Regions from separate parts of the Homo sapiens genome. Here region 2 is linked to region 1. The links are contacts of gene promoters, found by promoter capture Hi-C in human tissues and cell types (Jung and others, 2019). All regions are on one chromosome and are shown on one strand. Each heading gives the region's core, a stretch centred on a gene start or on the middle of the fragment in contact. The rest is flanking DNA. Distances are from core to core; before and after follow the strand shown. Region 1 holds the start of SV2C (synaptic vesicle glycoprotein 2C). Region 2 has its middle 100 kb from the start of SV2C.

Region 1 (5,863 bases), core at 3,301-5,800:
TCTTTGCTACCAAATATATAACTGTCTCCATGGAGTCATTCCCAACCACCCATGTCACTCACTCCTATGGCTTTTACCAAAGAAGTTAGTCCTCTTTACATTTGTCTCACAAAACAGAATGGTATTTCACTGAGGGCTTCCAGCAGATACTTGGTAAATATTAAGGAGGAAAACATAGCTTAGAAAGTCCATGCATGCTGGGTTCTTGCTATCCTATCTAGTACTAGTTCAAATGCATCTGCATATGTGGTTCCCCTAATGATAACATCCGACTCACTTGGCAGAGCTTGATAAACAGCACATTCTGGACCCAAACATGGAACCATTAATTTAGAATGTCTAGAATGGGGCTCAGAAATTCCCACTTAAACAAGCTCCCCAGAAAAATATGATATACACAACTATTTGAGAATCGCTGGTCTATTTGGCTACTCTAGGATTCTAGGGTTTCCAAACAGTGGAAAATGATAAGAGAAAGCTCTCTTGGTTTCACTTGTCATAAATCTCACTGTACTCTTGACTTGTAAGAGGGTCCAAGGTTGTCAGAAGACTGAAGCCCATCCCTATAGTGTCCAGTCTTAATCATTTGTATTATATACTATCTATGGGAAAAGATGTAGCAAGCATAACGCACATTAGGTGATCAACAGAAAATATTTTAAATGTCACACTAAATTGATCTGAGTATCTTCTTTATGTTAAGCAGGAATTATTTTTCAAATTTGATCCCTAAAATTGTTTTAATTCATACATCTAATGGCATAATACAAAATCTAATGGACCACTTATCTACAAAAACAGAGCCTATAGCTTCATGTAAAATTTTAACATGAGTTAATTTATTTTAAAAACACATTTTCTATACTACTTATAAGCAAACTTCAAACTTAAAATATAACTCATCATATATTTCTCTATTTCCTGGAAAGAAAGAATACTAGAACTAGAAAGGACCAAATCATCCAATCCATCCTGTCCATTTATTTCATTTTGTTCAATACCTCTCAATAGGTAAGCCATCCTCAAGTGCAAATACTACTGCTGTCCCTAATTAGGAGGGGTTGTTTGTAATAAAATAAAATTGTGTTTTAGTATCCCATTAAGACATATTTCTAGCAAGAATTAAAATCGTAACTTCATTCCCATTGTTATTTTTAGCTGTCTCAAATAAAGAAAAAACCTCCAAATTCAAACCACTGCAACATTTTACACTGGTTGCTCAACTGTGCAGAGATTGAAAAAGCAAAGCAGAGATTGAAAACAATGTGGCAATGTTGCATCAAAACTATATATGCCAGGGGCTGCCTTTCCTGGGTTTACAAACAGACTTCATTGAAATGATGAGTTTGTGTTTAAATGGAGAATACTATGTATGCTGTGAACCACAGTCAAACAGGAACCTCACCAACATGGAACCAAGAAATACGCTGGTGTATTGAAGGTTTTCCCTTGATATAGCTGCACAGAAAAAGAGGCATTTTGCTTTCACTACTCACAGAAATCTACCGTCATCTGGAGTAATATGAATAACAACAGTGGGCTGGTTAAGGAGCCATTTTGACAAATCACATGCTTTTATTCATACAATATGTCATCAAGTTTGCTTAAGAATAAGAGATAACACTCCTAATTATAGGAAATGGGTTTTCTGGTACTTGTCGTCACGTGATATATTGCACATTATGATGCCTTTGCCGTAATCTCCTGGAGACTGGGAACTGGATCCTATTATTTGAAGCATTTCCACACTTAAGGAATATGATAGGGTTAATAATGAATAGGAGTTTTACTACAAGCTGTTAGGCCAGTCTGCTGCTCAGATCAGAGAAGCTACTTTCACTGTCATTGGGTCATGAAAAATAAAGCTGATTTCTCCACTACATGAACAAAACACTCAGATGTGATCCAGAGCTTCTTTTTTTCCTTCTCCAGACAGTCAGTAGCTAATGGCATTGGATTACATATTAGACTGTTAGGAAAAGTCTGCTGTCTGCATTTGCTCACATTGAGGGCCAAATTTCATTAAAAAAACAATGCTGGGAAAAGTCTCTAGAATTTTTTAAAAGAAAATTCTGTGTGTGTGTGTGTGTGTGTGTGTGTGTGTGTAGGGGCTTTGTTTGCTAATATTTTCCATTCATGGAAAATTTGTATTTCCAAAGCCAAAGCTCTCTGAGATTATCTCTTTTGTCTTCAAAACAACCCTGTAAGGTACATAAGAGCTAGTATAAGCTATTTTTCACAATTCTCAGAGGTGGAAGATGAACCCAAGAGGGTGAGTAACCTGCCCAAGGTGACATAACACAATATTTGGGGAAATGGTGACTAGCATCTGTGTCTCTGGGTTCCTTGATAATTGCTTTTCTTCCTCCCTCCCTTCCTTTCTTTCTTTTTTCCCAACCCCGTCCCCTTTCATTCATTTTGCCTACATACTGCAGATTTGGGCTCCTTCAGTAAAGCCAGTAGAAAAACTTTGTCACTGGGTTTCCAGAAAGTGGTCTTTAAAAAAAAGAATAAAATGGATCGTGGATTTGATTTATTATTTTCCACCAGAGAATGCGTTATCAGTAGTGTTTTTTAACGCGTATTTTTATGCCATGAAAGAGGAATGCGGCATATTGTTTTGTAAGACATTCTTAAACCTCACTTAGAGGCCAGGCCTCCTGCCAAAAATCCTGCAGAATGGTGGCGCAACGGGTTGGCACTACAGAACCTCACGAACCTCAACACCTAGGCGTTCACATGAAAACTTCCCACGAGCACGAGGCCTTTCGGAACTTGCCATGGAAAATGAGTGAACGCCTGAGAGATTAATGCCACATTCTTCAGAATTAAGGATAAGAATTAAACGGAAGCTACCGCGCTAGCAGTCAGCTAAGTATGAAGGGATTAGGTTCAGCGGGAGAGGAGACCATCACGGCATCCCGGTCTCATCTCCTTAAGGCTCTCATGAGCCTTAAAAGACGCCTCATCTCCTCGGTCCCCCGGGGAGCGCCCGGTAGCTGCGGCTCCTTCCCGGCACTGCGGCGCACTGCGGAGCCGCCTGCCCGCCAGCCCAGGCCGTGCGGGGCTTTCCTCGCCGCCCCGCGCCGCCGCAGTCCTCCCGCCCCCCTCTGCCCCGCCGGGTCGCCGCTCTCCGCGCCAGGCGCGCCGCGGGGCATCCATCAACCCAGAGCTTTTGACGCACACACGCGCGCTCCCAGACGGAGACTCCGTCGCCTGCCCCCGCCCGCCACCCCCGCCCGCCCCTCGCGGGTCTGCATTTGCATCACTCGCACACGTAGAAGGTGACGCGAGCGCCCCCAGCTCAGGCCGTCCAGGCGGCACCTCTAGCCCCCGTGGCTCAGCCCCTCCCCCCGCCCCCGCGCGCCGCCTAAGGTCCCCGCACGCCCACAGATCTGCTCCCGATTGTTCATCTGCCGTGGGGTGCTGGCTGCCCCAAGCCAAGTTCATCCCCGTATTCCGCAGTCCCCGTGGGCCCAGCCCGGGGCGCTCCCCGCGACGCTCTGGAGAAAAGTCTTCCCAGTTCTAGAACCCAGGCGGAAGGGGAAAAGCCCACTAAGAGAAAGGGTCAGAGGGTCGGCTGATGGCTTTTGCTGCCCTCATCGCCATCTAAGATTACCTCGGTAGCTTATTTACTGCGATTGGTCCCTCTCCCCTCTGAGCTTCACAGCCTCGGGTCTGCTTCGCCTGGCCTGGCGCACAGCAGGCGCCCAAAAGGTTTTTGCTGAATGAAGGCGTTGTAACGTAGGAAGTGCAGGCGCTGACAAAGAGCCTCAGCCCCGCGGGCTCCCCTGCTCTCCAGCCCTCTCTTGCTCTCTCTTAGACGCCAGACAGGCGCTTCGGGAATGTATGTGGGAGAGTTTGAAAATTCATGGTGTTTCTTTCAGGCTCTCTCAGCACTTACTGCGGCTACCTCTGCTCTCCCGCCACCTGCACGTCTGCAGAGGGATCCCCGCCGAAAAGTTGAGCCTAAGGCAGCTATGAAGGTATAGGTCCAGGTACCCAGCCCGGGGCTCTAGGCTGCTAGATTTGAATCTGCCTATCCCTGCCGGTCAAACCACACAAGCAAAAAAGAGCGTGGCGGTCGCTGCAGATGCGGCCCCTGCATCCCCGCTGCTGCCCACCCACCTCCTCTGGGAATCCCAGATAAAGTGCGACCCAGTCCCCAGACCTACCCTAGCGAACCCTGGGGTCACTGCATCTATTTTACCCCTACTTTCCTGGTCCCTCTCCAACAAAGGCGCCTACAAAGCAGCGGGCACCTGCAGCCGCTTCCCCGGGGGCAGGCGGGGCAAAGTTGCGCTTCCGAAAGGCTGCAAAAACTTCCCCAGGCTGCAGCGCCCGGCCACCAGTCGGGAAGAGAAATCCAGCAGCGGGGGAAAGTCTCCCCGCGGATGCCCGCTTCACCTCCCCCACTCACCGCTCCAGCCGTCGGACACCCTTGCCCTGAGTGGTGTCAGCACTGCAGCCGCCTCAGTGCGGGCGCCGCTCCGGCTCGCTTCCCCGGGCTGCCTCCGTCTGCCACTCTCGCCTGCAGCGCGCGGAGTGGTGACTCCTCTGAGCGTGTCAGCGGCGAGAGGAGGGGCGGGAAAGTGGCTCCCGGCTTGCACGCTGCGGTCCTCCTCCTCTCCTCCGCCTGCCTCCTCCCCCTGGTGCTGCAGTGCCGGGCGGCGGCGTGGCGAGAGTACCAGCGGTGCGCAGGGAGTCACGGCGCGCGGGGGAGGCGGGACCCGCGCGCCACTCGCGGTGCTCCGGCAAGTCGCGGTGCTGAGGCGCTGCTGCGGTGTGGGACTGGGGCAGGGGGCGGGGAAGGAGAGCCACCTCCAAGTGGTAGGTACTTCTGGAGAAGTCAGGGCTCTGAGTTTGTAGCAGGTGAAGGAGAGGGGCGGCAGTCCTTAATTAGTCACCAACTGTGACTGTGCGTTGCGCACTTGGCGGCGCCCCGGGTCAGGTCCAGCGTGAGACGCGAGGGAGTTCTGACTGCTGGACTCTGTTAGCACCGGACAAAAAGAGGGTTTGTATTCTATTTCCGGGCCTGGGACTGACTTGTTCACTTCGACTTGGCTTCCAGGGAGCAACCAGGCAGAGCTAGGTTGCCTACTTCCCCCAGCCCCCACCCCGACGCTGGAAGACAAGTCCAGAGGAAACTTGGGCACAGCAAGAGCAAACAGAAGAAAACTTCGCTGGGTTAAGTCTACTGTCTCCCCAATGCTACATAGGGCCAGACAGCTGGGCTCACAGGCAGATATTGAAAGTGGCCCCTTAGAGGGGAAACAACCAAATATGAGGGGGGGGGGGTGGAGAGAGAGATAGAGAGAGAGAGAGGAGGAGGAGGAAGAAAGAAAGAAAGAAAGAAAAAGAGAAAGAAAGAAAGGAGGAGGAGGGAGAAAGAGAGAGGAGAGAAGAGAGAGAGAGAGGGAGAGAGAGAGAGAATTTTGCTTGTGTTGTTAGAAACAAACATTTCTCCCCTTGGCGTGCAGGAGAGAGAATTTTGCTTGTGTTGTCAGAAACAAACATTTCTCCCCTTGGCGTGCAGGAGACCCCAACTCGAGCTTCACTGTTCCAAAGCGGTGGGCCAGGCGGCTGGAGAGAAACTCGCTCCCGTGAGGCCACACCCAGGCCTGGCGCACCCACCCCGCGGCAGCAGTGGAGGGCGTCGCCCTCCCGGGCCTTCCGACGCAGACCCTGCCATCCGGATGCTGCGGGAAGTAGGGCATCCTCACGTCCCTGACTCCTCCGGCTCCGCGCGCTCACGGAACCCAAGTGGAGTGGGAAGCGGTCACACAGGCGTGTGCCGTCCCCGAAATCGTTGCTCCTGTGGTGGTGACCCAAAGCGAGACAAAGCGCCGCGCCAATACGGGCT
Region 2 (5,801 bases), core at 1,112-3,611, 100 kb after region 1:
CAAAATACACTCATCACCTATAAAGTTCGCCAAAACATCTTTTTTTTTTTTTTTTAAAGCTGGCCCATAATTTTGCAACCTGCATCAGATTTTGATGTGGCTCCTCTTTATTAGGAGACCTGTGAATGACAAGACAAGATATTTGCACTACAATTATCATCTTCTGCACTCATGACCATCGGTGATTGCAGCATTTCTTAAAAGAATGCCACTATCAGCTCCAGAGTTTTCCTCCCAAGCCGCAGACCTTCTTTCTGCAGCTTTTGATGTCATTTTTCTAAACTTATATTTTTTCCCTCAATTGAATCATTTGGTGCTGAAAGTTAAGTAGTTCTGTTCAAAGTTTCTGACAGCTGCTCTTCGGCCACATAATGATGGTCCCGAGTGACACGCAGATTAGTCACACCAGATCCTCTTTTTTTTAACTGTTATTTTAAGTTCAGGGGTATGAGTACAGGTTTGTTACATAGGTAAACTTGTGTTATGAGGGTCTGTTGTACAGATTTATATTACAGATTATTATGTTGTGTTTGTTACATAGGTAAACTTGCTTGTTACAGGTTTGTTACATAGGTAAACTTGTATCATGAGGGTTTGTTGTACAGATTATTTCATCACCCAAATATTAAGCCTAGTACCCATTGGTTATTTTTCCTAATCTTCTTCCTCCAACTATTCACCCTCCCCCCTCCAAAAGGCTCCAGTGTGTGTTGTTCGCCTCTAAGTGTCCATGTGTTCTCATCATTCAGCTCCCACTTATAAGTGAGAACATGCGGTGTTTGGTTTTCTGTTCCTGCATTAGTTTGCTAAGGATAGTGGTCTCTAGCACCATCCATGTCCCTGCAAAGGACATGATCTTGTTGTTTTTTATGACTGCATAGTATTCCAGGGTATATATGTGTCACATTTTCTTTATTCAGTCTATCATTGATGGGCATTTAGGTTGATTCCATGTCTTTGCTATTGTGAATAGTGCTACAATAAACATACATGTGCATGTGTCTTTATAACAGAATGATTTATATTCCTTTGGGTATATACCCAGTAATGGGATTGCTGGGTGGAATGGTATTTCTGTCTTTAGATCTTTGAGGAATCACTATATTGTCTTCCACAATGGCTAAACTAATTTACACTCCCACCAACAGCATAAAAGCATTCCTTTTTCTCCACAATCTCACCAGCATCTGTTGTGTTTTGACTTTTAAATAATAGCCATTCTGGTGGGTGTGAGATGGTATCTCATTGTGGTTTTGATTTGCATTTCTCTAATGATCAGTGATGTTGAACTTTTTTTATATGATTGTTGGCCATGTGTATGTCTTCTTTTGAGAAGTGTCTGTTCACGTCCTTTGCCCACTTTTTAATGGAGTTGGGTTTTTTTCTTGCAAAACTGTTAAATTCTTTTTTTTTTTCTTTTTATTTTTTTAATTAAGTTTTAGGGTACATGTGCACATTGTGCAGGTTAGTTACATATGCATACATGTGCCATGCTGGTGCGCTGCACCCACTAACTCGTCATCTAGCATTAGGTATATCTCCCGATGCTATCCCTCCCCCCTCCCCCCACCCCACAACAGTCCCCAGAGTGTGATATTCCCCTTCCTGTGTCCATGTGATCTCATTGTTCAATTCCCATCTATGAGTGAGAATATGCGGATGCTGAATATTAGACCCTTGTCAGATGTATAGTTTGCAAAAATTTTCTCTCATTCTGTAGGTTGTCTGTTTCCTCTCTTGATAGTTTCTTTTGCTGTCCAGAAGCTCTTTAGTTTAATTAGATCCCATTAATCAATTTTTGCTTTGGTTGCAATTGCTTTTGGAATCTTCGTCATGAAATCTTTGCCTGTGCCTATGTCCTGAATAGTATTGCCTAGGTTGTCTTCCAGGGTTTTTGTAGTTTTGGGTTTTACATTTAAGTCTTTAATCCATCTTGAGTTGATTTTTGTAAATGGTGTAAGGGAAAGGTCCAGTTTCAATCCTCTGCACATGGCTAGTGCAGTTATCCCAGCACCATTTGTCAAATAGGGAGTCCTTTCCCCATTGCTTGTTTTTGTCAGGTTTGTGGCATATCAGATAGTTGTTGGCGTGTGGTCTTATTTCCGGGTTCTTTATTCTGTTCCATTGGTCTATGTACCTGTTTTTGTACCAGAACCATGTTGTTTGTTTACTGTAGCTGTATAGTATAGTTTGAAGTTGGGTAGTGTGATGCCTCCAACTTTGTTCTTTTTGCTTAGGATTGCCTTGGCTACTCAGGCTCTTTTTTGGTTCCATATGAATTTTAAAATAGTTTTCTCTAGCTCTGAGAAGAATGGCAATGGTAGTTTAATGGGAAGAACACTGACACTATAAATTGCTTTGGGCAGTATAGACATTTTAATAATATTGATTCTTCCTATCCATGAGCATGGAATGTTTTTCCATTTGTTTGTGTAGTCTCTGATTTGTTTGAGCAGTGGTTTGTATAGTTTACTTTGTAGAGATCTTTCACCTCACTAGTTACCTGTATTCCTAGGTATTTTATTCATTTTATGGCAATTGTCAGTGAGAGTTTGTTCCTGATTTGGCTCTTGGCTTGACTGTTCTTGATGTATAGGAATGCTAGTGATATTTTTGCACATTGATTCTGTATCCTGAGACTTTGCTGAAGTTGTTTATCAGCTTAAGAAGCTTTTGGGCTGAGAGTATGGGGCTTTCTAGCTATAGGATCATGTCATCTGCAAACAGGTATAGCTTGACTTCCTCTCTTCCTATTTGGATGCTCTTTATATCTTTCTCTTGCCTGATTGCCCTGGCCAGGACCTCCAGTACTGTGTTGAATAGGAGTGGTAAGAAAGAGCATCCTTTCCTTGTGCCGGTTTTCAAGAGGAAAGGCTTTCAGCTTTTTCTCATTCAGTATGATGTTGGTTATGGGTTTGTCATATATGGCTCTTATTATTTTGAGGTATGTTCCTTCAATACCTAGTTTATTGCAAGTTTTTAACATGAATGGACATCGAATTGTATTAAAAGCCTTTTCTACATCTATCGAGATAATCATATTTTTTTTCCTTTAGTTCTGTTTATGTTGAATCACATGTATTGATTTGTGTATGTTGAACCCAACTTGTATCCCGGGGATGAAGCCTACTTGACAGTGGTGGATAAACTTTTTGATGTGCTGTTCGATTTGGTTTGCCAGTATTTTGTGGAGGATTTTTGCCTTGATGTTCATCAAGGATATTGGCCTGAAGTTTTCTTTTTTTGTTGTATCTCTGCCAGGTTTTGGTATCAGGACAATGCTGGCCTCATAGAATCAGTTAGGGAGGAGTCCCTCCTTTTCAATTTTTTGGAATAGTTGCAATAAGAATAGTACAGTCTTCATTGTCTGTCTGCTAGAATTCAACTGTGAATCTGTATGATCCTGAGCTTTTTTTGGATGGTAGGCTATTAATTACTGCCTCAATTATAGAGCTCTTTACAGGTCTGTTCAGGGATTCAATTATTCCTGGTTCAGTTTTGGCAGGATGTATGTGTCCGAGAATTTATCCATTTCTTCTAGATTTTCTCGTTTATGTGCATAGATATGTTCACAACATTCTCTGATTGTGTGTATTTCTGTGGAGTCAGTGGTAATATCTCCCTTATCATATTGATCGTGTTTATTTGCGTCTTCTGTCTTTTCTTATTAGTCTAGATAGCAGTCTATGTATTATTAATTTTTTCAAACAAACAGCTCCTGGAATCACTGATCTTTTGAATTTTTTGTGTGTCTCTATCTCCTTCAGTTCAGCTCTGATTTTGGTTATTTCTTGTCTTCTGCTAGCTTTGGGATTTATCTGCCCTTGGTTCTCTAATTTTTTTAGTTGTGATGTTAGGTTGTTAACTTGAGATCTTTCTAACTTTTTGATGTGGACATTTAGTGCTATAAATTTCCCTCTTATCACTTCCTTAGCTGTGTCCCAGAGATTCTGGTATGTTGTATCTTCGTTCTCATTAGTTTCAAAGAACTTCTTGATTTCTGCCTTAATTTCATTATTTACCCAAAAGTCATTCAGGATCAGGTTATTCAGTTCCCATGTAATTGTAAGGCTTTAAGTGAATTTCCTAGTCTTTATTTCTAATTCATTGTGCTGTGATCCCAGAGGCCGTTTGCTATGACTTCAGTTCTTTTGCATTTTCTGAGGAGTGTTTTATTTCCAATTATGTGATCAATTTTAGACTAAGTGCCATGTGATTATGAGAAGAATGTATATTGTGTTGTTTTGGGGTGGAGAATTCTGTAGGCATCAGGTCCATTTGATCCAGTGCTGAGTTCAGGTCATGAATATTTCTGTTAATTTTCTGTCTCAGTGATCTGTATAATATTGACAGTGCGGTGTTAAAGTCTCCCACTATTACTATATGGAAGTCTAACCCTCTTTAAGGTCTCTAAGAACTTGCTTTATGAATCTGGGTGCACCTGTGTTGGGTGCATATATATTTAGAACAGTTAGATCATCTTGTTGAATTGAACACTTGACCATTATGTAATGCCCTTCTTTTTTTATCTTTGTTGATTTAAAGTCAGTTTTGTCAGAAACTAGGATTGCAATCCCTCCTGCATTTTTCTGCTTTTCATTTGCTTGGTAGATTTTCCACTATCTCTTTATTTAGAGGCTACGTGTGTCATTGCATTTTTATTTTTTTTCTTGAGACAGGGTCGTGCTTTGTTGCCCAGGCTGGAGTGCAGTGGCATGACCTCAGCCCACTGCAACCCCTGCCTCCCAGGCTCAAGCAATCCTCCTGCCTCAGCCTCAAGCCATCTATCCTCCTAAGCCTCAAAGTGGTGGAATTACAGGTATGAGCCACTGCACCCAGCCCTGACATGAGTCTCTTGAAGACAGCATACGAATGGGTCAGACCCTCTTTACTTGAAATATCTTTCACCTCTTTCAAGGTATTTGGCAATTTCTCTCCATTCAGTTGCAGTGTGTTGTGTGTGGTACCAACATGAGTAATAGCCACTGTACATATAACTGAACTAAATTATTAATAATCTAAACAATAATATATTTAAATTTTTGTGGAAACATATATATTTGTGTGGATAAGAGCAACTACTTCATTACCCCTTCCTAGATGACAAAGATTATAAGATGGGCATCAATTGTAAGACACAGCCCAATTTCAAATGCAATAAAGTGTGAAAAACAGTGTGTCTTAGAATTGATGGAATATAATAAATTTTAGAGTGATTAGACTACAGAAGATATTTGAGGACACGTGACTATTTGACATTGTCTATGTGGTTAGAGTATGTAGAAGAGAGGTCTCAGAGCCAATCCCTGAGACATTTCAATATTTGGAGAATAAGAAGGAGAGGAATATCCAGCGAAGAAGAGCTACAAAGTACAGCTAGTGTGGTATAAGGAGGGCCAAGAGAAATGGTGTTGCATAGCCTAAGAAATCACTCAAAAATTGGGAGCAGCCAGGTGAGTCAGAAGCTGTTGATAGATGGAATAAGAACAGGACTGAGAATTGACTCTGCTATGCAGCAATATGGGGGTCATTGGTGACCTTGGCAAGAGCAATTTTGGTGAAGTGGTAGGGGGCAAATGCTTAACAGGCATGGTTCCAGACATAATCAGAGGTCAAAATATACAAAAGGTGGTTAAAGACAACTTTTTAAAGGAGTTTTGCTGGAAAGGGGTGCTAAGCAACTGAGCAGTAGCTGGAGAGTGATGACAGCCCAGGAATGGCTTTTTGAAATGGAAGCTACCATACAGTGTTTGCATGTTAATGGGAATGGTCCAGCAGAGCAGGAAAATGTGATAATTCGA

Evidence for each region. The method cuts DNA at HindIII sites, captures the fragments that hold promoters and counts their contacts. A contact is called where the count stands out against the background at its distance.
Region 2: a contact is called between a fragment that was not itself captured here and the fragment with the promoter of SV2C in region 1, in 3 of the 25 tissues and cell types used here (bladder, mesendoderm cells and stomach).

The regions. Positions count from the first base shown.
Region 1 is chr5:76,082,070-76,087,932 of GRCh38, reverse strand. It overlaps SV2C (synaptic vesicle glycoprotein 2C), which reads right to left and starts at 4,550. Exons shown (of 13, transcript NM_014979.4): 1 at 4,421-4,550. SV2C-AS1 (SV2C antisense RNA 1) reads left to right here and starts at 4,516. Exons shown (of 2, transcript NR_183290.1): 1 at 4,516-5,014; 2 at 5,537-5,863. RefSeq lists an enhancer at 5,186-5,739. The HindIII fragment of the contact is 16,764 bases long and covers 1-5,863 here.
Region 2 is chr5:75,977,853-75,983,653 of GRCh38, reverse strand. It overlaps a transcript of SV2C not described here. Among named protein-coding and RNA genes, the nearest start is that of SV2C, 100 kb to the left of the region's middle. The HindIII fragment of the contact is 9,346 bases long and covers 1-5,801 here.